6 separate regions of the Homo sapiens genome follow, and regions 2, 3, 4, 5 and 6 are each linked to region 1. Evidence: promoter capture Hi-C in 16 types of primary human blood cells and fetal thymus (Javierre and others, 2016). All regions are on one chromosome and are shown on one strand. Each heading gives the region's core, a stretch centred on a gene start or on the middle of the fragment in contact. The rest is flanking DNA. Distances are from core to core; before and after follow the strand shown.

Region 1 (4,597 bases), core at 601-3,100:
CATCTCCCCGAAGAGCACCCCCGGGAGCTCTGCCAGCGGGTTCTCGAACAGAGTCAACAGAGTCAGATTGTGCGAATGAAGAAAGAGCGCAGAGGGGAGAAACGCAAGGTGGTTTCTCGAAAGCGTCAAAGAACTGAGGTTTGGGAGCCGGTCGAAGGCCCCGGGTGCGATGGAACGGATGTGATTTCGGTGGAACTGCAGCTCCGTCAGGGCGCCCAGGCTGTTCAACAGCCCCGAATCCAGAGACACAAGGCGGTTCGAGTGGAGCAGAAGTCTCTCGAGCTTAGCCTGTGCTCCAAGCAACCCCTTGGGCAGGTGGGTCAGGTTGTTTCCCGATAAATCCAACAACTTCAGGTTCTCCAGATTCGTGAAGAGACTGGCAGGAAGGAAATCGAGCTGATTCTGGTTCAGAGCGAGCTCCTGCAGGTTAACCAGTTTCTGAAACATGTTTTGGTCAATGCCCCTTAGCGCATTGTGGTCCAAAAACAACTGCTCCAGGAGCACCATCTTATCCAGCAGCGCACCTGGAAGATGCGTGATTTTGTTGCGCGACAGCCTCAGGGTTTTCAGTTTTATCAGGTCACTGAAGGTGCCGGGGGCAACGGCGGAAATGTGGCTGTCGGAGATCATGAGGCGCTGCAGGACGGTCATGCCGCTGAAGCTCTGGCTCTGCAGGACGCCGCGGCCCATTCCGAAGAGCAGGATGTGCGTGAGGTTGGTGGGCAGGCCTAGCGCGGAGATGCGCGCCACGTCGCCCCCCGAGCACTGCGCGGCGTCCCGGAAGACACACTTGCAAGCTGGCGGACAGGGGAAGGGCTGGGCGCGCAGAAGCCCGAGCACCGCGCACAGTAGAGTCCCCCTCAGCATGTCTGAAAAAGCAACCGTGGGAGTGTGGTCAACACACAGGAGCGTTCGCGCCTGTACTGAACCCTGGGATCCTGCACTTTGTGCAGAGGCACAATCCTTTCGCCAGAATTCTCACTCCCTCTTTTCTTAGGACTACAGATTTCCCTACGTGGTGAAAAGACACTCATTCTACACTGCGTGGCCTCATGCTTTTGCTTTATTGATTTTCCACTCTCAGTTTAAAGCATTGAGATTACAGAGTTTTCAAGCTACCGAATAGCCAATACTTTAAAGTCCTTACATAGAGAATTAAAATAATCATTCTCACATTCAAGCTCACAGACATCACAAAGCAATGTCCATTGTGAAAACGGCTCTGCTCTTGACTTTATAACTTACCCTGCATTGGCTATAACCAACAGTCAAGAAGGGAACAGCAAAGTCTGCAGCCACCACCATCTGATTCTTTTGCTCACAATCATGCTATTTCCACAGTACCAAGTTACTCTATTAAAGGACACCCCCAAAACAGCGAACACCTTCAATCAACAGCCAACAAAAGCATATAATAATACCTATCACTTTACGCCATGCATTGTTCTCAGCTCTTTATTTATACTACATGCATTTAATCCTTACAATAACCTTAGGAGGTAAGTATATTATCCCCGATTCAAGGATGAAGGCACAGAGGCACAGAAAGGCTCAACAGTATAACTAGGGTCACATAGAATTTGAGGGTAGTATTTCTGACTTAGCCATAAAGAGCTACTATTTCTAAGATGCTTAACTAAAGGTAATACTCACGGCACTGAATTTTCTGGGAAATGCACACCATACTACTAACCTGCCAAAACAATGTTTCCTAAGCGAAATTTTACATAAATTGCTTCTCGTGCAATTTTACTTCTCATGCACACACAGACTAAAGAGCCCTCTAATTTCCTATACTAATGTTTAAAATATTTGGCCTTACCTGAAATGGTTCTGCACTCCAAAGTAACTGAAAGACTTAGAGCTCTGCATGTGATTCGACACTTTCCACAGGAAGAGGGTGGTATCCTTGCATCCTGAGGATAAAGACTTTACCAGAGTAGGTCAGGAAAGGACCCTATCTCAGAGCCCTTGTTCTGGTTTTTAATGACAAATATCTTCAAACCGAGAGACCATATATAACCTGATTCCTACTGTCAAAGCCAAGAGCAGTGGGGAGAGTTTTTCCATAAATGGCACAATATAACTCTATGATGCCAGGGAAGTTCAGTGATACAGCTGGATCACTGCAGTAGCCACACCCCTAGATGGGCCACACTTCCCCTGGGTCTTCCTTTTCATGCCACATGGCCCTAATTTCCCACCCAGGTTTTTTTTTTTTTTTTTTTTTTTTTTTTTTTTTTTTTTGGTATGTGTTGTTTTTCTTTCTCCGCTTAGCAATAAAGCTAAGAACATTCTCAAATCCTCCATTTTTTTCTTCCTTTTGGGACTAATAAGGCTAAGAACATCTTTGAACTTGTTCAACAATGGCATTGCTAGGTTGCAGGATGCTCACTTGTTGTTTTTTTGGTGGGGGAGGGGGACTCTGTCGCCCAGGCTGGGGTGCAGTGGTGCGATCTCGGCTCACTGCAACCTCCTGCTCCCTGGTTCAAGCAATTCTCCTGCCTCGGCCTCACAAGTAGCTGGGATTACAGGCACACACCATCACGCCCAGCTAATTTTTTGTATTTTAGTAGAGACGGGGTTTTACCGTGTTGCCCTGGCTGGTCTTGAACTCCTGAGCTCAGGCAATCCGCCCGCCTCGGCCTCCCAAACTGCTGGGATTACAGGCATGAGCCACCACGCCCGGCCGCTCACATGTTCAGTTTAACTGGGGAAAGTCAAACTGCTCTCCAAAGTGGTTGTGTTGGTCTACGATGACACCTGCCATTTGTGAGAGTTCCTGTGCTTCCTCTCTGCCCACACGTGGCACTTCCTGCTTTTTGCCATTTCTATGAAAGATATCTCAGCATGATTTTAACTTTTCCTTTCCCTGTTTAATGATGAACTTGAACACCTTTTCACATAATTAAGGCCCACTTGTGCTTCATTTGAGAAAGCTGGGTTTCCTTTTGCCCATTTGTCTATAGGCAAAACGTGTCTACGTGTCTTTTGAACACACTGATAATGCTGTCTGCATTAAGACTTCCGGCCAGCCGCCCTGTCCGGGAGGGAGGTGGGGGGGTCAGCCCCCCGCCCGGCCGGCCGCCCCATCCGGGAGGTGAGGGGCGCCTCTGCCCGGCCGCCCCTACTGGGAAGTGAGGACCCCTCTGCCCGGCCAGCCGCCCCATCCGGGAGGTGGGGGGCGCTTCTGCCCGGCCGCCCCTACTGGGAAGTGAGGAGCCCCTCTGCCCGGCCACGACCCCGTCTGGGAGGTGTGCCTAGCGGCTCATTGGGGATGGGCCATGATGACAATGGCAGTTTTGTGGAATAGAAAGGCGGGAAGGGTGGGGAAAAAATTGAGAAATCGGATGGTTGCCGGGTCTGTGTGGATAGAAGTAGACATGGGAGACTTTTCATTTTGTTCTGTACTAAGAAAAATTCTTCTGCCTTGGGATCCTGTTGATCTGTGACCTTATCCCCAACCCTGTGCTCTCTGAAACATGTGCTGTGTCCACTCAGGGTTAAATGGATTAAGGGCGGTGCAAGATGTGCTTTGTTAAACAGATGCTTGAAGGCAGCATGCTCGTTAAGAGTCATCACCACTCCCTAATCTCAAGTACCCAGGGACACAAACACTGCGGAAGGCCGCAGGGTCCTCTGCCTAGGAAAACCAGAGACCTTTGTTCACTTGTTTATCTGCTGACCTTCCCTCCACTGTTGTCCTATGACCCTGCCAAATCCCCCTCTGCGAGAAACACCCAAGAATGATCAATAAAAAAAAAAAAAAAAAAAAAAAAGACTTCTATCCTTCAAGACACCATAAAAAAGGGGAAAAGATAAACCACAAACTAAAGATATTTGTAACACCTATAGCTGACAAAGGCTTAATGTCAGAAGATATAAAGAATCATGGGATCCAATCCCCTTTGATGCAGCCTAATGCAGTCAGAGCCCAGTAAAGGCTGGGTTGACTGAAATTACCTTCAAAGTCACGCAGCCCTGGACCACAGGGAAGAGCCACTGCCTCTGCCAGGTATCGCGGGAGGTCTTTCAGTTCCGATCAAGGAATGCAACTCCAGAGCCCTGAACTGCTACACTGGTGACCTGGTAAGTCCGTCATGCATAGGCACATCGAGTGAAAGCCTCCCCGCCCCCTTGCCCATGAAATTGCCAGGGAGCCAACATGACAGACTGGGAAGGCGAGCTGTGAAACAGAGTAAGATGCCGATGGCTCAAATTCCTGTGGCCCTTCTTTAGCCTATTTCCCCAGGAAAACCTCCAGTCAGAATGGCCTCTACATTTTGTCCCTTAGGAAGACACTTTGATTGTCCAGGAAGGGAAAAGTAGGTATGGCAGTTGCAGAGTGGGGGAACACTCTTAGTCCATCCACTGAGCAAGTTGATGAGGTAATGAGAAGTATTTGGAGCAAGGAAGTTGACAGCTCCAGTGCTTCCAAGTCTTAAGATTCTGTATCCATTACCAGGTCAGAAGTCTGCTGTAAAACAGTTACCTGGCTTAAGGGGCTTGGCTATTCAAAAGCAGGTCTGTGCCTGGGTGAGATAAGCCTTTTTCCTCTGAGGGAGACTCAGTGGGCCGGGCACAGCAGGGAGCAACC
Region 2 (2,517 bases), core at 18-2,517, 760 kb before region 1:
CTGACAGCCCTCTATTCAAAACCCTGCTCCTCTACTAAGTGACCTTGGTCAGGCTCTCAGATATTCCTCGCTCTTTATTCCTAGTCTGTGTAATTCCTGCTTTATGGGGTTTTTGTGAAGGCTAAGGGAGTTAATGCGTTTGCACCACTTACTAAGGAGTCTGTCACATAATGCATGCTTGGGTACTGCTAGCTATTATTTTATAGCATCTTAATTAAAATCTAAAATAATGTGAAGAAAGGGAAGAATTTGAATTTTTGTTAAGTGGCCCTGTAATGTGAAGACTTAAAATTTTGATATAATAGGAAATACTCCCTTCTAGAATGTATTTAAGAACTACTTCTTTAAATTCTTACGTTTTCACTATTTCAAAATAATTTTTTCAATGTGAGTAGCAAGGAATTTTCCAAGTGAAATTCTTAATTATGATAGAAAATTACAATGATTTCCACTGTTTGTAAGAGATAATAGTCATTGTTTATTTTATTCCTAATGTTTTCGTAGATGCTTTTAAAATGTAATACATTTTAAATAGGAGATATGACTTCAAGATTTTGGAAGATTTTAATTTAGACTTAATACTATTTGATAACCCATCTTTTGCTTATATAGTTACACTTATTATTTTATTGCAGTTGAAGTATCAGAGAATCTTGGAACGATTAGAAAAGGAGAACAAAGAATTGAGAAAATTAGTATTGCAGAAAGATGACAAAGGCATTCATCATAGAAAGCTTAAGGTATTCTAAGTTTGTCTTGTTTATTCTCAAAATTTTACCGCTTAACGTTGTGTGTTCATCAGTACCAGTTTCTAAGGAGCTGTAAAGTATTCTGTCATCCTTTTCTTTCTAACCTAATGTGCTTGGAGGATGGAGGATCTCTTCCTATATTAAGACATTTTATAAGTTGTAGTCTCCAAATACTTGTTTTATACTATGCCCATAAAATCTTTACACTTTTAAGAGTTATTTCGTGTGAATCAGTTTATTTTTCTGAAATATCTAGTTTATCTCTAGGCTTAACTTTTACATAAAATTTTATATAAAATCAGAATTGTTAATTGATGGACATGTAAGTGACTTATCATCATTGCTTTACTTGTATGCCAGTGAATGATTAGACCACTTTCTTCAGTTTTTAAAAAATTAACACTTTTCTTCTAAGGAGAGCTTTCTTAGGCATTTCAAAGAACTTTCGAAAAAGTGTGTGCTGGTATTGTTACTATCAGCACATTGGTGAACTTATTTACCAATAAATCAAGTCTTACTATTCCCCACCCAACTAAACCACATGTGCTAAATTGAATTGAAACAATTATTTAACTTAAATCTCATATAAGTAAGCAGAGTTTATATGTAGCAAAACTGCAGTAAATCATGGCATGTACATTCTGTAGTCAAGGTCCAAAGATAATACAGTTCTAGCTTAACAAACATGCATTAGTAGCTTTGACTATAAATCATGACTGCATAAAACAGATAACATGACTATTTACAAGTGGCACTTAGAACTGAGAAAAGTCATTTCCAAGTGCTAATATATGTAGAGTTTACCTCAGAAACAGTATTTTCTCTCATAAAATGCAGTGGCAATTAACATTTTTTGTTTATTTTTAGGCTGGTGGGTTGGCAATTGCTTGCCATTTAATTTTTTCTAGGGATTAAGAAATGAAAGGACCCTTAAGCCATCATTTTGCTCCTGCCTTAGCATTAAAACTTATCCATAATTATTAAATGCTTGATGGTACCCCTTTTTTTCAGGCCTGTGTATTTTTTTGTTCATTCATTCATCAAATTTACATGAAGCTTGTTACACGCAATGCAAGGCACCACATTCATTTCTGATTCTACAGCAAGAAACGATACAGGATATTTGCCCTTGCTACACTCATATTTCAGCCTGCCCAGTTGTCAGTGGATACTTAACCACCCTTACTGGTTTAACAGTCTTCCTGGTTTATCCTTTATTCAGATGCTTGCTTGCACGTGCTCTCTGTCCTCTCTCTTTCTCTCTCATGCATGCCTCAAACTTAGCAAAGAATAATTTCATTGTCAGTTGGTTACCTGACCACCTTTTTTTTGCCTTTTTGGTGTTAATGGTCTTTTCTTGCATTCAGTATTAGCTCATCAGTATTAAGTAATAATTTCCATCTTATTTAATTAGAATGTTAGGAAATCCTGAATTAATTTACTTTATTAAATCATTGTATCTAAATAAACTGAATGAGAAATGGACTTTTAATCTGTACCGTTTTAGTTTTTACGATGAAGATGTATTTATGTAATTTGAGAAAACAGTACAATGATTATGGAAAAACAATTTGAATTTATCACTTTTTTCTCTTGACACATCTGTTATATTTTTTTCTTTACTTTTACTGTTTTATATTATAACTTTTTAAAATTTTTACAGAAATCTTTGATTGACATGTATTCTGAAGTTCTTGATGTTCTCTCTGATTATGATGCCAGTTATAATACGCAAGATCATCTGCCACGGGTATGTGAAAAATTGATA
Region 3 (4,597 bases), core at 678-3,177, 720 kb before region 1:
AGAGCCCGCTTTTGTTTTTGTTTTTGTTTTTAAGAAGAAATAACGGGGAAAAAAAAGGTTTCAAAACTCATAAAGAAAGAGAAAGAGAGGGAGGGAGGGAGGGAAGAAAATGCTTCCATGTAACTGCATCATTTGGTACTTTGGAGTCCATATCCTACTTGAAACTCTAGGATCTGGCCCTCACATTTATGTAGTGCTTTATTTTACAGTTTACAAAACTTCTGCTTGTCCATGTGTGTCTGTAAAGTCATATGAGGCATTATGCCCATTGTTCAGATAGAGAAATTAACGTTCATTGACATAAATGGTTAAGCCCATTATGTAAATATTTATGGCAAAGCTGGGGCTAATCATATGTGTTACAGATAGGACTTTTTTTAAAGAATTGTTTAGGTATTCTGTTCATCATTAGTCTCTGGGTTTGTGTTTGTGGTAACCATAGACAACCAAGTTCATATAATTTGGCTTCTTTTTTATGTGATTTTTGATACGTGTTAAGGATCTATAACAATGAATTTGCCTCCTAAAGAGGTACATAATGTTTTCATTCCTCCAAAAAGATAATTCTAGGTTTATAAATCTATGTATGCTCAGTGCCAGTTGAATTTTGTGATTGTTCAATAGAAAAGAAATTGTGACTTAAAGGTGATTTTCCAGTTTAATGGAATAAATGAAATTAGTTTAGAAGTTATTTTTATTTTTCTGAGCCTGATTCTCACTCAGTTGTGATAAACAGCACCTCTGTAAGATAAACTCGGTGATAAACCGAGAACTTCTGAAATCAGCCTAACATGAATACCTGTTCTTCTTGTGCTAAGTTTCATAATGCTTTATCCTAATACACCATTTTTTTAAGAAATGGAACTTGTATTTCATTTTTGCTTTCATCTCACCTAATTCATAATTTTATTAAAACCTACGATTTTTAATTTCTTTTTTTATGAATTTTTAGTTTGGTGTATAAATCAGAATTACATTCTCTGATCTTTTACTTTTAAAATTACAGTGATGAACTGACTGTTTAAGAATCATTCTCATGATTCATTCGTCTGTTATGCCTCCTTTTTAAAGCTTCAGCACTGAAGGTCTTTTGACAAACCAATATTTATAACAGTTTGACAGCAGGATGAGGAACAGCGTTTGTCTTTGTAACAGCTTGAAGAAAGACCCTTTCCAGGACCCAGTCATGCAGTTACAATCTTGACCTCTTTCTTATGCTGGGAACATGCATACAGCAGCACCTCCCATGTGTTTTCTTGTCCCATTGACTGTCCATTCACTTCCCATCTGTTTTGCAGTCTTAAAGGAACAGAAGGGGCCTTCTTATAAATCTGTCTTTGCAGGTGATAAATGATGCCTACCTCTTTAAGAGCTGCCTGGGTGGTTTTCCTTTTCTTAGAACATTTCTGCTTTCCTCCTAACTAAATCAGGGAAAAATACAATTTTAGGAATAAGAGAAAAAGAAGAAAAGATGAATTTTTAAAGCATTTAATTGACTAAGAATATTTTACTGATCTTTTTTAATCTTCCCAATTAATTGCCTAAATCATATTTTTTAAAATGTATTATCGATATTTAGATTTTTGTCAGGGAGTAAAATGAATGTATTCATTTTGAAATAATGTAACTCTTTTTTGAGAAAACAAAGCCATGTATCATTAATGAGTTAACATATAAAATAACTTTTTAAGTTTTTTGTGATAATTTAAGTGTGGAGCATCTTATGTATTGGATACAAAAGTAAAATATTTCAGAGTAAATCATTGTAATCTTATGGTAAAATCTATTCATTTTTTACATTTAAAAAGATGATCATAAATCCCATAAACATTTATGCTTTTACTTCTGTTGCTGAAAATAAGTATTGTAGGAATAGATATTGATATCATTGGGTTTTCTAAGAATTCAGCAGAAATAAAAATAATTTACTTTTTCTCCCATGCAGAAATTATTTATGCAAGGTTTTATGTAACAAATATTGTCCCTCTATGGCCCTGCAGAATATTCTTAAATTACTGATTTAAAAACTATTACCAGTATAAAATGACCACTTTTAGAATATTGTGGTGTATTATGTGAATCAGCTGGCTAATAATATATCTTCTGTGGACTAGCTTGTTAGTTTGTTTATTAATTCCCTGGCATATTCCAAAAGGAATTTGAGGCAGCTTACATATATCCTACGCAAAAGATAAAACTACTTAAGTGAAAAATTTGGGTTGAAAGAAAAGGAAAATCCAGGCAAGTGAAATAAAGTAAACTTTCAGATAAAATTGGTGCCCCTCAAAGTGCATGCTCAAGGGTTCTACGTACAGGCAGACCTCATTGTATTGCATGTCACTTTATTGCACTTCACAGTTATTGCATTTTTAACAATAGAAGTTTTGTGGCAACCCTGCATTGAACAAGCCTGTTGGCACTATTTTCCCAACAGCCATGTGCTCACCTCATGTCACTGTCACATTTTGGTAATTCTTGCAATATTTCAAATTTTTCCATTATTATTCTGTCTGTCATGGTGATCTTTGATGTTTGTATTGTAGCTATTTTGGGTACCACTAACTGTGCCCATATTAGTCAGTGACCTTAATCAGTAAACGTGTGTATTCTGGCTGTTCCACCAACTAGACATTCCCTGTCTCTCTCCTCCTCTTCAGGCCTCCCTATTCCATAGGACACAACAATATTGAAATTTGGCCAGCTAATAACCCTACAATGGCCTCTACATGTTCAAGTGAAAGAAAGAGTGCCATATTTCACTTTAAATCAACAACTAGAAATGATTAAGCTTAGTAAAGGAGGTTTGTTGAAAGCCAAAATGGGCTATTAGCCAAATTGTGAATGCAAAAGAAAAGTTCTTGAAGGAAATTAAAAGTGTTATTCCAGTGAACACACGAATGATAAAGCAGAACAGCCTTATTGCCTGAGACGCAGGAAGTTTCACTGGTCTGGATAGAAGATCAAACCAGCCATAACATTCCCTTAAGCTAAAACCTAATCCAGAGCAAGTTCCTAACTCTATTCAATTCTCCGAAAGCTGAGAGGTGAGGAAGCTGCAGAATAAAATTTGAAGCTAGCAAAGTTTGGTTCATAAGGTTTAAGAGGAAAAAAGCCATTCTGCAACATGAAAGTGCAAGGTGCTGATGTAGCAGCTGCAGCAAGTTATCAAGAATATCTAACTAAGATAATTGATGAAGGTGATTATACTAAACAACAGATTCTTGATGCAGATGAAGTAGCTGTCTATTGGAAGACGATGCCATCTAGTAATTTAATAGCTAGAGAGAAGTCAATGCCCAGCTTCGAGGCTTCGAAAGAGAGGCTATCCCCTCATTTTGGGTGCCAATGCAGCAGGTGCCTTTAAGTTGAAGCCAACCTAAAGAATTTACCATTCTGAAAATCCTAGGGCCCTTAAGGATTATGCTAAGTCTATCCTGCTTGTTTTCTAAAAGTGGAACAAAAAGCCTGGATGACAGCACATCTGTTTACAGCATGGTTTACTGAATATTATAACTCTCGAGACCTGCTCAGAAAAGTTTTCTTTCAAAATATTACTGCTCATTGACAATGCATCTGGTCAAGCAAGAGTTCTGAGGGAGATGTACAAGGAGATTTATGTTGTTTTTGTGCCTGCTAGCACAACATCCATTCTGCAGCCCATGGATCAAGGAATACTTTCAACCTTGAAGTCTTATTATTTTAAAAATACGTGTCTTAAGGCCCTAGCTGCCATAGATAGTGATTCCTCTGATGGATTTAGGAGAAAAAAAAAGGAAAAGCTTCTGGAAAGGACTCACCATTTTAGATGCTGTTAAGACCATTCAGGATTCATGGGAGGAGGTCAGAATGTCACCATTAACAGTTTGGAAGAAGTTGATTCCAACCCTCATGGATGACTTTGAAGAGTTTGGGACTTAAGAGGAGGAAGTAACTGCAGATATGGTAGAGACAGCAATAGAACTAGAATTAGTTCTGTTGTAATATGATAAAACTTGAACAGATGAAACATTGCTTTTTATGGACAAGCAAAGAAAGTGGTTTCTTTTTTCTTTTTTTTTTTTTTGGCAGTCTCAGTTTGAAGAAAGTGGTTTCTTGAGATGGAATCTGTTCCTGGTGAAGATGCTGTGAACATTGTTGAAATGGCAGTAAAGGATTTAGAATATTACATAAACTTAGTAGATAAAGCAGCTGCAGGGTTTGAGAAGATAGTGTCCCAATTTTTAAAGAAGAAAAATTTGAGTAAATTTGGGTAAAATTTACCCAAAATTACCTATTGTGGGTAAAATGCTATCAGACAGCATCACATCCTACTGTGAAATCTTTCATGAAAGGAAGAATCAATCAGTGCAGCAAACTACAATTGTTGTCTTATTTTAAGAAATTGCCATAGCCACCGTAACCTGCAACAGCCACCACCCTGATCAGTCAGCAGCCATCAACGTCAGGGCCAGACCCTCCACCAGCAAAAAGATTATGACTTGCTGAAGGCTCAGGTGATCCTTAGCATTTGTTAGCAATAAAGTACTTTTAAATAAGTTATGTACATTGTCTTTTTAGACATAATGCTATTACACACTTAATATATTACAGTATACTG
Region 4 (4,597 bases), core at 1,016-3,515, 700 kb before region 1:
ATAAATGATACCTACTAATTGTCGATCATTGGATATGTCAAGTTAGGTAGCGTATAGGTGTGCCTTCTTAATTCCTTCAGAAGATGCAGAGGCAAGAACATGTTTCAATCGTGTTAGCATTGGTTTTCTTTATCAGTGCTAACAGACTCAGTGTGAGGCCCCATACTTTATTTTAAACTAGGTTTTCATCCTTGTGTAATTCAAGTTCAGAATCTTCGTGTATCAAAACGTTTGAAGAATTTAGTTACTGAAGATTTAATAGAGCAATTAATTTTTTTAGCATGTCTGATTGAAGAATTAATATATTTATCAAATTGAAATAGCTACCATGTGCCTATAGATAATACAGATGTATTTAATTATGAAGTACGTCTTAAAATAACCACATACCCGATTTGTGATAACTAAAACAATCATGTCCTGCACATATTAGACCCAGTTAATAAGTGTAGAAAACTTAAGTGTTCAAACAAATACTACAAAAATTGTTAAAGGTTCAAAACCAGGAGACAGTATCAGGAAGGCTTAAATATGGGTGATCTCTAGCTGGAAGAAGACAGCTTCTAAAACTAAGGGTAGGAAAAACCTATATCATAAGGCATTTGTTTAAATTTATATCCTAAAATGACAGAATTGAGCTTGAAAATTGAGAGTATGTATGTGATTCCTCTCCAAGACTTCTCGTGAGTTACGTACATATTCTGCAGAAGCCGCGTTAAGGTGCATTTGTGGCCAAGTCACTGACAAGGAGGTAAATACTACTTATAAATGCTGTTAAATGAAAATCTTTTTTTTTTTTTTTTTTTTTTTTTGAGTTGGAGTCTTGCTCTGTCGCCCAGGCTGGAGTGCAGTGGCGCGATCTCAGCTCACTGCAAGCTCCACCTCCCGGGTTCAGGCCATTCTCCTGCCTCAGCCTCCCGAGTAGCTGGGACTACAGGCACCTGCCACCATGCCTGGCTAATTTTTTGTATTTTTAGTAGAGATGGGGTTTCCCCATGTTAGCCAGGATGGTCTCAATCTCCTGACCTCGTGATCCACCCGCCTCGGCCTCCCAAAGTGCTGGGATCACAGGCGTGATTGTTACTCTTTGTGATAAAAAATTCTTGTTCCTGCTGTTAGTACTTTTAATTCATTAACCCAGGTGTAAACTGTTCCTTTCCAAGTATTTGGGAAATTCAGAGATCTGTTTTTGAAAAAACTAGGCCAGAGGCACCCCTGAAGATCTAGTCACAGTGCAGTGATACTGCCAGCAGCCCCCCACAGAGATATGTCTTACGGCTGTATTAAGAATATAAGTTACACTCTTTAATGTTCAGAACAGAATACTCATTCTGCTGCTTACTCTTGTAGTTATTAAATCACAGAGCAACAATACGGAAGTTAGAATTTTATCCATTTGTCAGAAAATATGCTCATGGTTTATGTGACCTAATACTTTCCAAAAGCTCTTGAGACCTCTGATATTTGTGAGAGAATATGTAGGGAATAGGTTAACCTCCTTTTTTTGCTTTGGTAAACTTCATCTGAGATTAGGCCAAATCATCAGAAAGCAATACTGCCTGGGCTGCTACTTACCTACCTCTTTGATATTACGTCCTTGGCTTCACAGGCAAGACCTTATGACACATCTATTTGAAGAAAATACACAGTCTCTTTTGCAGAAGTCTAACCTAATGACATGTCTTGATTATCACTGAAATTCATTAAGGATTACTAGATAGTACCAGCGGTTTCCCCTCCAGACACATGTATGTACTGCTCTCCTTGTGACAATGAGAACTCAAGACTTTACCATTTTCTTTGCTTCAGCTGCCAGGAAATGCTGAAATTAATTTCCCTCTCAACTGAAGGAATGAACCTAACCATTTTTCTGCTCCTTTAGTTTGTGTTCTATTTTTGTTATTAATCTCTCTTTCCATACATCTTAACGCAGAAACAGCTTTCTGTGTTAGTTTGCGTCACTAAGAAAATACAATGCTTACTTATTTCTCATTTTAAGAAATATATTTGTCTAGAGGGTTTAAGAATTCCCACATGTGCCATAATGCTCCAGGTGGTACACAGCCACTCCCCTTGCATACCTAATGTATATAATTTTTTTCTACAATCAATTCATATATATATATAGTAAAAAAATCAGAAATCACCTCAAGGACACAGTACACACCCAGTGACAATAACATGCCTGCCTCCCCGCTGCCGGGAGCAACACCACAGTAGCAGGAGGTGCCTGATGTGTGTTGAGAGGAAGGATGCAGAGAGATATGTGTAAGTTTGCAGCCATTCCAGAAATATTAACACATCCTAACTAAGGGCCTATTATAAAGGTCTGAGCAGGACTCAGAACACTACAAAGTAGACTAAAACTGGCCAGCAGCATTTTGGGATCCATGGAGAAACTCCACTGAATTCTTTTTGAACGGTCAATATCCTATCTTGCCAAGGATTGGTCCCATGAAACATTTTTGGTTTCCCTTTAAAATTTTGAAACTAAGAAGAAAACTTGAATCCAGAGCAAAGAAACCAGTATACCTTGTGTTTTGCACCCATTATCACAGAAAGTATTGTTTCCATTTTATAGATGAGAAAATCAGCTCAGGTTTTGCACAAGGTTATTCTAGTTGAATAGCAAAGTTGAAACTTGAAAACAAGTATGATTACAAGCCTATGCACTTTCCAAAATATGCTCCCTTTCAGAAATACTTTTCGGAAAGTAAACATTTATGATATTAGGAGCACATTAGGGCACATGATATACCTAGAAAGTACAAAATGACCTAACTCATAACAAAAATGGCCTATGATAGTCTTTACTAATTACATGAGGCTATTGTTGCATTGCAAGAATGGAACTATCAGCAGAGATGTGTGGCTGCCTGTGAGACCTTAGTGGACAAGAAGATGAGATTCAGTAGGTTCTAATTTCATGTTAACGCCAGGCCTTAAGTTTTAGGTGTAAAAAACAAGTGCTTTGCAATTCTCAACATGTTAATAATGTTAATTCTCTCATTTTATCCTGTGCAGATTCTGTCAATCTTTTTTAGTTAGTCCAAGTATTAAAATATGGAATTGCTCTTTCCTCAGTTTTTAAAAACTTGATTGAATATTTTCTTTTTCCAAATTACTATTTTTTTTTTTTTTGAGACAGGGTTTCTCACTGTCCCTCATGCTGGAGTGCAGTGACACAATCACAGCTCACTGCAACCTCGACCTCCTGGGCTCAAGTGATCCTCCCACCTCAACCTCTCGAGTAGGTGGGACTACAGGGACACACCACCATGCCTAGCTAATCTTTTTTTTAATTTTTAGTAGAGATGAGATCTCAATATGTTGCCAAACTGATCTCAAAATTCTGAGTTCAGGCAAGCCTCCTACCTCAGCCTTCCGGAGTGCTGGGATTATAAGCGTGAGCCACCTAGCCTGGCCCAAATTACTACTTTTGAGTGTCTTTCTGCGCCCCACCCCCAATAAAATTATTTTGAAGGAAAAGCTATTAGCAGAATTCTTTAAAATTTCTACTAAACTTATATTCCAGGTATCTCATGTACATTCTTTAATTTTCTTGCCTTGAGATATGTCTGGTTTCCCAAGACTATTAGGACCGAAAGACAGATTTTCATGCCAAAATCTGTATGAGTTATCTTTACCCGTATCAGAACATCTCTAATATGAATGCTTAATTGAACATGCCTGCCATTTGCTGCCTCTGCCATTTCATAGGCTGTTGGTACCATCACAAAGCCACTCCCACTTTCATACATTCAGATTTCTCAAAACATCTGAGACATTCACATTCTTGCTAATTATACTCATTGCTCTGGTCATAGCTGAATCAAGATTCTGAGAGTGTAATTTTGTTCGCGTCAAAAGCATTGTTTTCTTATCCTGTTGGTGGAGTGAGGCATTTGGACCTGGATGCTCTCCCCATTGGGCGCCCCCCGTTGGTACGTTTCGCCAGCTGTGTACTCTATGATTGGCTGGCCTTTTGATGTGCAGGTACTACAAGTTGGTCACAAACTTGTGTACAATGGGCCTGTTCTGGTTCATGTGAAAATCAACATCCTTTTTTGTGTTACCGGGTGACAGGATGCTACAATACTATTAGCATTTGCAAAGAGTGTGCTCTGTCCAAGGGTGTAACCACAGGTCGTGTGCTGCTCACTTTGTGTTTCTCTATTATGTGAGAGACACAAAGAAGCTGAGGGCTCGCAAAGGCCTGTCAAATCTTGTAATGTGGCGCTCGACCCCCAAACTCCACTTGGCCTCCAAGCATCTCTTGTTCCCTGTCCCACCCCTTTCTCTGAATGGGCTCTGAGGTAGGTAAATGAATTCAGGGGCCTGGTAGGCGGGGGATTCCTTTCTGGCCTCATTCCTGTACCATTTGTTTGCAGGCTTGTAGGGGGAGAGGAGGACATTTTGGAATCCTTTGTGTCAAATCATTTTCTTGCAGGTTGGGGAGTTAATGGTAACTTTGTCTGAAGCCAGCCAAGCAGAAAGCCTCCACGGATGAGGCGTGGTATGCTCAACCTCCTCAAAAACCACAAGATGAGAATGTGGAAATGGGGAACTTTCTAGAGCAGATGAGTATGGGACAAGT
Region 5 (4,597 bases), core at 693-3,192, 670 kb before region 1:
GCACAATTTACAAGCACAGAAACAAAACAAAACAAAAAATGTAGGCGATAGATTTGAATAGACGTTTTGCTAAAGGAGATCTACAATAACAAGCAAGCACCTGAAAAGATGACATGCCACTACACACCTATTAGGACTAAAAGACCGACCATACCAAGTGTTGACAAAGATATGGAGTAACAGGAATCTTCATACACTCTTGGTGGAAATGTGAGATGGTATAACCACTTTGGAACACAATTGGAAGTTTCCTAAAACATCGAATACAAAACTATCATATGATCCAGCCATTTCATTCCTGTCTACCCAAGAGAAATGAAAGCATGTGTTTTATACAAAGATGTGTACACAAATGTGCGCAGCAGCTTTGTTTGTAACAGCTAAAAACTAGACATATCCCAAATGTCTAGCAAGAGAGAAACAGATAAACAAACTGGTATATTCATACAGTGGAACACTATTTGGCTATCAAACGAAATGGACCAGCCAGGTGCGGTGGCTCACGCCTATAATCCCAGCACTTTGGGAGGCGGAGGTGGGCAGATGGCTTGAGCTCAGGAGTTCGAGACCAGCCTGGGCAATATGGCAAAACACTATCTCTACAAAAAAATACAAAAAAAGAAATTAGCCAGATGTGGTGGTGCAGGCCTGTAGTCTCAGCTACTGGGGAGGCTGAGGTGGGATGATCACTTGACCCTGGGAGGCTGAGGCTGCAGTGAACCAAGATCACACCACTGCACTTCAGCCTGGGTGACAAAGTGACAACCTGTCTTTAAAAGAAAAAGAAAAAGAAAAAGAAAGTGGACCACTGAGACATGTAACAACATGGGTGAATCTCAAAATGATTATGCTAAGTAAAAGAAGCCACATTTTTTTTTAAAAGAGTACATACTATATGGTTCTAGGAACCATACATTGTAGGAAGTGCAAGCTGATAAATGGCGATAGTAGATCCGTGGTTGCCTGAATACAGGATGAAGGTATTACGGGGACACGAGACAAATTTGGGGGCGACAGATATGTTCATTGTCTTGTTTGTGATGATAGTTTCACAGATGCGGGAACTTATTAATTGTATGCTTTAAATATGTATAGTACGTTGTACATCAGTTATACTTCCGTAAAGAAAAAAATATGAAAATTTGGGCATCTATGTTGTACAGATATAGATTCAATTCCCATATTTAAGTCCCAGCGTCACCACTTATATTCTATATAAGCTTAGACAAGTCACTCAATCCCTCTGAATCTCAGCAGTCTCGTCTGTAAAATGAAGATGATAATATTCCTATCTTCCTTGGAAGATTATTATGAACACAGAACAAAATAATATTTATATAATGCTTAATAGCATGCTTAGGACATAGTATGTGCTTAACAAAAATTATTATTAAAGTGCTTCCCACTGCACCTGATATTAGCTTAATGCTCAGTAACGTTTTACCCCATCTCCACCCTTACTTTCCCTACTAAACTTGATGTGTGTGGTCACAAAACAGTCTGGCACTCTAGACAAAGAGGGGTCATTAGCTGCATCAGGCAGAAAAAGCCAGCTTCTGAGTGAGGCAATTCGACTGGGTCTAGATCTCCCATCTCGTCCCTGGGTGGGTGTGGCTGATGTTGGCCCCACGAGGTGAGGGCTGTAGGCAGTGCTCTTTGAGCATGGTGACTCGGCCTAAGAAGTGGCTGGCATGGTGGAGGCTAGACTCCTCCCTTTCTCCTGGACCCTCATGGAACTTTCCACGTCCACAAGTGCAGCCGTGCAGTTTGTAAGCCCCAGCTCTCCCTCCAGGGTGGAGCAAACACTTTGGAGGGTGACCCTATTGTCCAGGAGATTTCTTTGGCCACAAAAGCCCTGCTGAAGTCTCCACATCCCTGAAACAAAACTAAGACTAGAACTTTCATGAAAGAACAAGGCCCTGCTCTGTGTGGCCGCAGCAGCTGAAACTTTAGCAGCAGTGGCGGAGACAGCAACCCCACCGCTAACTTATTCTGGCAACAAAGACGCCCCCCTTTCAGTTAACCTTTCACTTCCTCTGACTTCCTTGACAAAGGGTTAGAGTTTGGAAGCAGGTAGAGCTGAGAGGTGTGGTTGGGATGGGGGTGGCGGCTGGGAGTCGTGAGCAGGTTTCAGGTGCATTAGAAATAAAGGGAGTTTGTTCAGCTTTTTATGGAAGGTTTCCTCATTTGCCTGGTGGCAGGTGATGATGCTGGTGTTAAGTATCAGACCTGGCTTTACAAACGAGCCCTGGTGGGAGGAGAGCTGAGCTCTGAAGGCCACACCTCGTCTGAAGGGTGTCTGCAGGCATTCTCGGCAGTCTGGGATTTGGGGACTTTTGGAAGGAAGGTGGCTTACATACCCCTAGGATTCCCAAACATATTGCCAGGACCCATTTTAACCTCACACCAAGCCTGTGTGTGAGTTTCATATTATTTCCATTTTTCAGATAAGACAACGAAGGCTCAAAATGTGTTTGAGCTTGGAGTCAGAAAAATGTTGTTTCATTCACTCATTCAACAAAACTGAAAATTGCACAGTGTGGGCAAAGGTATGCGGGTAAGGTAGAGAACACACCCAGGCCCATCCTCGAGGGCCTCACTGTGGTGTGACTACATCCATCATGCCTTGTTGAGTGGCCTTGGGAAAGTTACAAACCTTTTTTTTAAGCTTCAGTTTTAAGACCTCTGGAAAAAAATGGGATTATAAACCTTTACTCAAAAGATTTCCATAAAGAGAAGTTGAGTTAAATAAGATAATATCTGTCACATCTCCAGAGTCTGGCACAGAGTAGACACTCCAGAAATTTGGCCTTGATGACTATCAGTGATGAGGAGGATGGGGGTCCAGGTAACCCAGTGTTCCCATTGGGCCTGCATTATATGGGAAGAGCCACGGCAGAGCCAGGGAATCTCCTGGAGCTGCATCCATCCTGAAACCAGGGAAAAATCCAGGGATCTCATAATCCAAAATTGAGTTCCCTCCCAAACAAGGAGTAGCTTTGGCTAAGGGCTTTTATTTTGAAAGTGGAGTGTAAATTTGAGTCACTCTCATTCATTCAACACGTATTTCTTAGCACCTGCATTGGGGTATAATGTTGCTGTGTTATGTACAGTCCAGGATGGGGGACAAGCTTCAAGCTGCTATGATGCGTGCACTGACAAGCGTACCCTGGGATAACAGAGGAGGCATCTGGTCCAGCCTTGGTGTGGTGGGTGCTGCTCCCTCTCCATCCCGCACCCTCATCCCAGGCAGTCAGTCACCTGCAAAGGCTGCTTCCTGCAGCATGGCTGTGAGCCTGCCCTCTGTTCACTGTTGCCACAGCCCAGTCCACAGCCCCACTGAGTGACTACAGTCACCTGCCCATGGGCTGCTCTGTCCCCAGCGTCTCCCTTCCTCACTGAGTGCACCCGGCCATGCTTCCTGAACTCAAAGATCTCAACACCTCACTTCTTTGCTCAAAATCTTCAAAAGCTCCACTTACATGTGGGAGGCCTCTGCAGTACAGCCCAGTCTTCCAGTTTCCAAACCGACCTCCTACTTGTGGCCTGCACTCATCCCCTGCACCATATCCCCTTGACTTCAGGAAAACCAGTTGCCACTTCATATGCAGACTTGCACTGCTCACCTTCCGAATGTCCTTCCCACCTACCCCATGGAGCCCCAGCCCCACTTCTTGCACGAGGAAGACCATAATTATATATACTTTAAAAAATCAGTCTTACTCTGTGAATCGTCAACTCAGTTTCCAACTATTGACAGTAATGACTTAAGGAATGGCACTTCCCAGCCCAGGGGTACTTGCTTAGCAATCGTTGATTCCATATGTTTACAAACTGTTCTTCACAGACATTCGGACCTCAACTCACTCAGGACAGAGGGCAGGGTGGTGTCATTATTATCATTCCCATTTTACAGATAAGGAAATAGTACTAAAGGAGTAAAGTGACAAATCCAAATGAATAAATGACCCAGGTGAAATGCAGATGTAAGACCTGCCTGTTCACATCCCATGTCCCTCCCCTCCCCACCAACACATACACAACTTTAAGATCAAATGAGCTATTTTTTATTGAGGAGATTCATGTGACAAATACATATTTGTTGAACAAAGTGGTAGAGGAAACTTCCAGTCAGCATGGCCAATGTCCTGGTGGATGCAGGGGTGGCAGCTAGCCAGAGACTCAGCCTGCCTTCACCTGCCCAGAGACTCAGCCTCACATGCTATGCCCTGCAGTTCAACTCAGGGAATTGTACCAACAGGCCAGTGATTGTAGGGGAGGCAGGGGAACCCCAGACACCATCCCTGGCCTCAAGGAGCAATTTAGTGTATTTGCCAGATTTGCAAAACACTTATGCTAAAAGCTAAGGTACAAAAGATGATATAGACAGATATTCACAAGGGCTATGGGGATGCAGGGGTTACCATCAGAGCCATTGGGGACAGAATCCAAAGGTGCTCTGTGGAGGCATTGGGATTTGAGAGATCCTGAGGGAGGGAGCCATGGATTCGTGGAAAGGGAACAGAATGAGCAAAGGAAAGAACACGCTGCTCTGGGAAGAGGATAGATGGAAGTGGAGGGAGAAATGGGAAGGGCT
Region 6 (4,597 bases), core at 1,091-3,590, 640 kb before region 1:
TTGCACTTAGTTGATATACATTCTATTTTGTTAAATATTATAAACTCCACAATATTGTTTCAACAGCCAATGATCTTTTAAGTAAATTAAACAAAAGTAAATAAATCCCTTTATATTTATTTACATAATTGTTATTTATGACATTTTAAATTTCTTTGCTTAGATCTGAGTTTCTATCTTTTACTTTTATCCTCCTGCATAAAGTACTTTCTTTAATATTTTTCATAGCACATTTCTGCTGATAAGTTTGCTCAGATTTTGTTTGGTGAATGTTGTTATTTTGCCTTTAGTTTTGATATTTTTGCTAGATGTAGACTTCAGAGCTGAGAGAGTATTATTTTCTCATTGTTGTTTTCCTTCTGTACTTTAAAATCCATTTTATTGATTCCGGGCCTTCATTGTTTCTGAAGAGTTCAGCTGTCATTCATATCATTGTTTGCCTTGTATGTAATCTGCTTTTGTCCTCTAGCTACTTTTAAATTTTTTCTCTGTATTGTTCATTTTCAAGTTTGACCATCCCATGCCTGAATGTAGATCTATGTGTATTTATGTGTATACCATGTGTATTTGTGATTCAATGTGTTTACTGAGCATTTTTGATTGGTATTTTAATGGTTTTCACTAACTCTGGGAAATTTTCTAGCCATCACTTCTTTAAATATTTTTTTTCTGTTCCATTTCTCATCTCTTCCCCTCTGACACCTTAATTTCACATATGTCAGACTGCCTGGTATTTCCCTACACATCATGGAGAATCTGTTTAATCTTTTTTATCTCTTTAAACTGTTTCAAGTTGAACAATCTCAAAAGGCCTATTTTCAAGTTCATTAACCCATTCTCATGTAGTCTGCAATCTGCTATTAAGCTCATCTAGTAGAATTTTTAATTCTACACATTTTTCTTTGCGGTTTTGGTAATTCTGTTTGGTTCTTTTTTATTGTTTCCATTTCTCTGCTGAGATTTCCTATATTTTTATTTAAATCACTGAATGTGTTAATAACTTTTACATTTGAAGTCTGGTCTGTTAATTCTAACACCTGGAGCATCTCAGGGTCTATTTCTATTGATTGATTTTTTTTTTCTTGAATTTAACTGGGTCACATTTTCCTATATCTTCATGTCTGATAATTTTTTATTGTTTGTTCTCTGACATGGATAATATAGGGAGTCCAGATTTTGTCACCTTCTTTTAAAGGACATTGAATTTTGTTCTTGAAGGCAGTTAAGTGTTTGGAATATAATTTTGGTCCTGTTAGAGTTGTTTCTTTTTCTTTGTGAAAGTGGGCGTATTTTTTTTTATTCCATTTCCCCTCTAATCCCTGCATTGTTGAAGGGATCTATTTTTGTATTGAGCTTAGGTTTAGAGCTGGCCCTTACTATACAGCATGGTTCTTCATCTCAAGGCATAACCTTTTTAGAATCTCAACTGAATCTTCAAAATGTTCTGCTTGGGACAGAAGTCCAACGTCTCTCAGCAAAGCAGGACTTCTGGTTTCTCTGTTCAGCTCCCAGTCCTGCAGCATGTGACCCTTGCTAGGCCTTGTGTATGGGCAGCTGAGTTCTCAGCCACAGACCCACAGTCCATCCCCATGCAGACTTCAGTGGCCTGATTTTCTGTGCAGTATCTTCTTTTCTGATATCCCACCCCACAAATTTCAGCCATGTCTATATCCCAAAGCTTCAATCTCTGCCTCCTTAGCTCTTTTTATTGCAGCAGGAGAATTTCCTTGGGAAAAAAACTGGGGTGACCATGGAACTCACGTCATATAGTTCACTTGTCTCCCAAATCACATTCCCCTATTGCCTATTGCTCCGTGTCTGAAAACATTTGCCTCATGTGTTTTTCCCCATTTGTAGTTGTTTTAAGTGAAGGCAAGTTATGTACCAGTTACTATGTCAGGATCAGACACAGAAATCCCCATGTGTTTTTAATTCTTTGCAAGATTAGTCTTCCTGATGATGCAGAGTGGTAGGATCCAATTTCTCTTAAACCATTGTAATATTCTTTAACAAGACCCCTTTGCTTAAAGCAAGGAAGTCATGTGTCACTCAACCTTGGCTGACTGAATGATTTAACTGAGAAAGTTTATAGGGATTAACTAGAAACTGGCCAACATGTACTATAAAAAAAGAAATGGTTGCTTTATTACTAAACACAATCTTTTCTGACTGCAAACTCCCAAAAAGGGAGATGTTCAGCATTGGGCAGACTTATTCTACTAATTTTCTCTCTTACACCCAGGAAATAAACGTGGTGTTGGACTGCATGGAACCACTGTTTTCCACTATACTCATCACCTTCTGCTGAATCTCTCTTTCTAGGTTAACAGAAAATTGGGCTCCATGTGAAACCTGTAAGCACTGAATGTACTTGCAAAAACCTATCTTAGCATAAGTTGTCACTTTGTCACTGCCCAGTGTAAATTAGTCTCATGTGTTATTCTTGCCTTCAGCTCCCTCTTCTTTTACTTCAGAGCTCTTAAAATTATTTGTAATTACACATATATGTATTGCTCATTTTTAGCCTCTCCCAGTAGATTATAAGCTCTGTGAGGGCAAAAACCTTGTGTGAAGCCCCAGTCTAGCATAGTGACTGATAAATAGGAGGAGCCAAGAATAATTTGTTGAATGAATGATTAAATGAATGAATCCACAAATAAGCAGATCCTTTTGGTATTAGACTAAAATAGATGAAAACAGAAGGCCTTAAAGATTAAAAGAGAAATAAATTAGCTCCTAAATACCCATGGTTTTTATTCTTCAAGGCACAAAGACCTCTTAGCCAGAGATGCCTGTGAGGAGCAACTTTCAATAGGAAACTGAAGAATTGATCACAAGATGTTGCTGTTACTGAGAACTGGCCATGAGAGCATCTGCCCATTCTGTAGGGGCAGTGTATTAGTCCGTTTTCACATGGCTATAGCGATACTACCTGAGACTGGGTAATTTATGAAGAAAAGAGGTTTAATTGACTCACAGTTCTGCATGGATGGGAGGCCTCAGGAAGCTTACAAACATGGTGGAAGGTAAAGGAGAACCAGGCACCTTCTTTACAAGGTGGCAAGAGAGAGAGAAAGAGAGAAAGGGGGGAACCGTCAAACACGTTTTTTTTTTAAGATGGAGTCTCGCTCTGTCGCCAGGTTGGAGTGCAGTAGCCCGATCTCAGCCCACTGCAACATCTGCCTCCCAGGTCCAAGCGATTCTCCTGCCTCAGGCTCCCAAGTAGCTGGGACTAGAGGCACACGCCACCACGCCCAGCTAACAATAATAATTTTTTGTGTTTTTAGTAGAGACGGGGTTTCACCATGTTGGCCAGGATGGTCTTGATCTCTTGACTTCATGATCTGCCTGCCTTGGCCTTCCAAAGTGCTGGGATTACAGGCATGAGCCACCGTGCCCGGCCTGTCAAACACTTTTAAAGCATCAGATTTTGCCCACCAGGTCCCTCCCTTAACATGGGGATTACAATTCCAGATGAGATTTGGGTGGGGACACAGAGCCAAACCGTATCTGGCAGCTATGGTCAAACCAGGCTTTTGTGACACACTAGATTTGGACTCCCCAGTTTGTATCCTATAATTTCTCTCCCAACAGCAGCACATACTAGGAAAGAACTTCCTGCTGTCTATGAGAGGGCTCAGCATGCATGGATTTTAATGACTCCCAGGACACTAAAGGCTCTACATGTGGCCCAGATGACATCTTGTCTTCTCTTGGTTATGGTGGCAAATGAAAACACCAACAAAGGCAGGGTACTCTATTTTTTTTTTTTTAGAGACAGAGTCTCGCTCTGTGTAGTGGCACAATCTCAGCTCACTGCAAGCTCTACCTCCTGGGTTCACCCACCATTCTCCTGCCTCAGCCTCCTGAGTAGCTGGGACTACAGGTGCCTACCACTATGCCCAGCTAATTTTTATATTTTTAGTAGAGACGGGGTTTCACTGTGTTAGCCAAGATGGTCTCGATTTCCCGACCTCGTGATCCGCCTGCCTTGTCCTCCCAAAGTGCTGGGATTATAGGCATGAGCCACCGCGCCCAGCCAAGGGTACTCTTTGACTGAAGGAGCCCTGGACACAGAACACTAAGGACCATTTGGTGAAAACTTCTCATCTTATGTGTGTGGAAGCTTAGTCTAGAGACCAAGGTGGGACAGAATGACCCCTAGATCACATAATGGTAAAAGACATCATGAGGACTAATTTCCAGGACCTCAACCTTCTAGTTCAGGCTGTATTGTTTATTTGTTTCCCTCCCCTTTACCTTTCCATCCATCCAGGCTGGATTTTATCTTGGATCACCTTAAAGAAAGAGCATGACATTTTCTAATCCAGTGTGACAGGACAAAGTCTGAAAAGATGCCTTTCTGTTTTGGCAACACACTCCTAAGTAAGTTTGACATTTCCAGAGAAATGACACCTTGGTCAAAAGTCCAATGACAGTTTGGAATCAGAAAAGACTGTACTGCAGAGTATGGTAGCAAGGAGCAAGCACTAGCTCAGGAATTTAGAGGCCTGGGCACAGCCTGTTTCTGACTATTGTGTCAACAAGGGGAAGTCCTTTCTTTCTCTGCCTCTTAGTTTCAGCATTCATAAAATTA

The links. The method cuts DNA at HindIII sites, captures the fragments that hold promoters and counts their contacts. A CHiCAGO score of 5 or more calls a contact.
Region 2: a contact is called between a fragment that was not itself captured here and the fragment with the promoter of GP5 in region 1, in 1 of 17 cell types (naive CD4 T cells). The highest score is 5.3, in naive CD4 T cells.
Region 3: a fragment that was not itself captured here is called in contact with the fragment with the promoter of GP5 in region 1 in 6 of 17 cell types (naive B cells, endothelial precursors, naive CD8 T cells and 3 more); the score reaches 7.8 in naive B cells.
Region 4: a fragment that was not itself captured here is called in contact with the fragment with the promoter of GP5 in region 1 in 2 of 17 cell types (M0 macrophages and M2 macrophages); the score reaches 5.7 in M0 macrophages.
Region 5: a contact is called between a fragment that was not itself captured here and the fragment with the promoter of GP5 in region 1, in 3 of 17 cell types (endothelial precursors, M2 macrophages and M1 macrophages). The highest score is 7.8, in endothelial precursors.
Region 6: a fragment that was not itself captured here is called in contact with the fragment with the promoter of GP5 in region 1 in 2 of 17 cell types (M0 macrophages and endothelial precursors); the score reaches 6.2 in M0 macrophages.

Annotation. Positions count from the first base shown.
Region 1 is chr3:194,397,416-194,402,012 of GRCh38, forward strand. GP5 (glycoprotein V platelet) reads right to left here and starts at 1,851. Exons shown (of 2, transcript NM_004488.2): 1 at 1,823-1,851; 2 at 1-869. The coding sequence starts at 867. RefSeq lists enhancers at 2,681-3,234, 3,235-3,787. The HindIII fragment of the contact is 7,722 bases long and covers 1-4,597 here.
Region 2 is chr3:193,634,783-193,637,299 of GRCh38, forward strand. It overlaps OPA1 (OPA1 mitochondrial dynamin like GTPase), which reads left to right. Exons shown (of 31, transcript NM_130837.3): 9 at 636-740; 10 at 2,413-2,499. Among named protein-coding and RNA genes, the nearest start is that of OPA1-AS1, 8.7 kb to the left of the region's middle. The HindIII fragment of the contact is 1,071 bases long and covers 733-1,803 here.
Region 3 is chr3:193,679,225-193,683,821 of GRCh38, forward strand. All of the region lies in intron 29 of OPA1 (OPA1 mitochondrial dynamin like GTPase), which reads left to right. LOC102724808 (a long non-coding RNA gene) reads right to left here and starts at 3,875. Exons shown (of 5, transcript XR_924835.3): 1 at 3,798-3,875. RefSeq lists a silencer at 1,102-1,302. The HindIII fragment of the contact is 1,717 bases long and covers 1,070-2,786 here.
Region 4 is chr3:193,697,977-193,702,573 of GRCh38, forward strand. No RefSeq gene overlaps it. Among named protein-coding and RNA genes, the nearest start is that of OPA1-AS1, 73 kb to the left of the region's middle. RefSeq lists an enhancer at 4,156-4,215. The HindIII fragment of the contact is 4,711 bases long and covers 1-4,597 here.
Region 5 is chr3:193,725,610-193,730,206 of GRCh38, forward strand. No RefSeq gene overlaps it. Among named protein-coding and RNA genes, the nearest start is that of OPA1-AS1, 100 kb to the left of the region's middle. The HindIII fragment of the contact is 1,448 bases long and covers 1,219-2,666 here.
Region 6 is chr3:193,755,703-193,760,299 of GRCh38, forward strand. No RefSeq gene overlaps it. Among named protein-coding and RNA genes, the nearest start is that of LINC02038, 86 kb to the right of the region's middle. The HindIII fragment of the contact is 1,329 bases long and covers 1,677-3,005 here.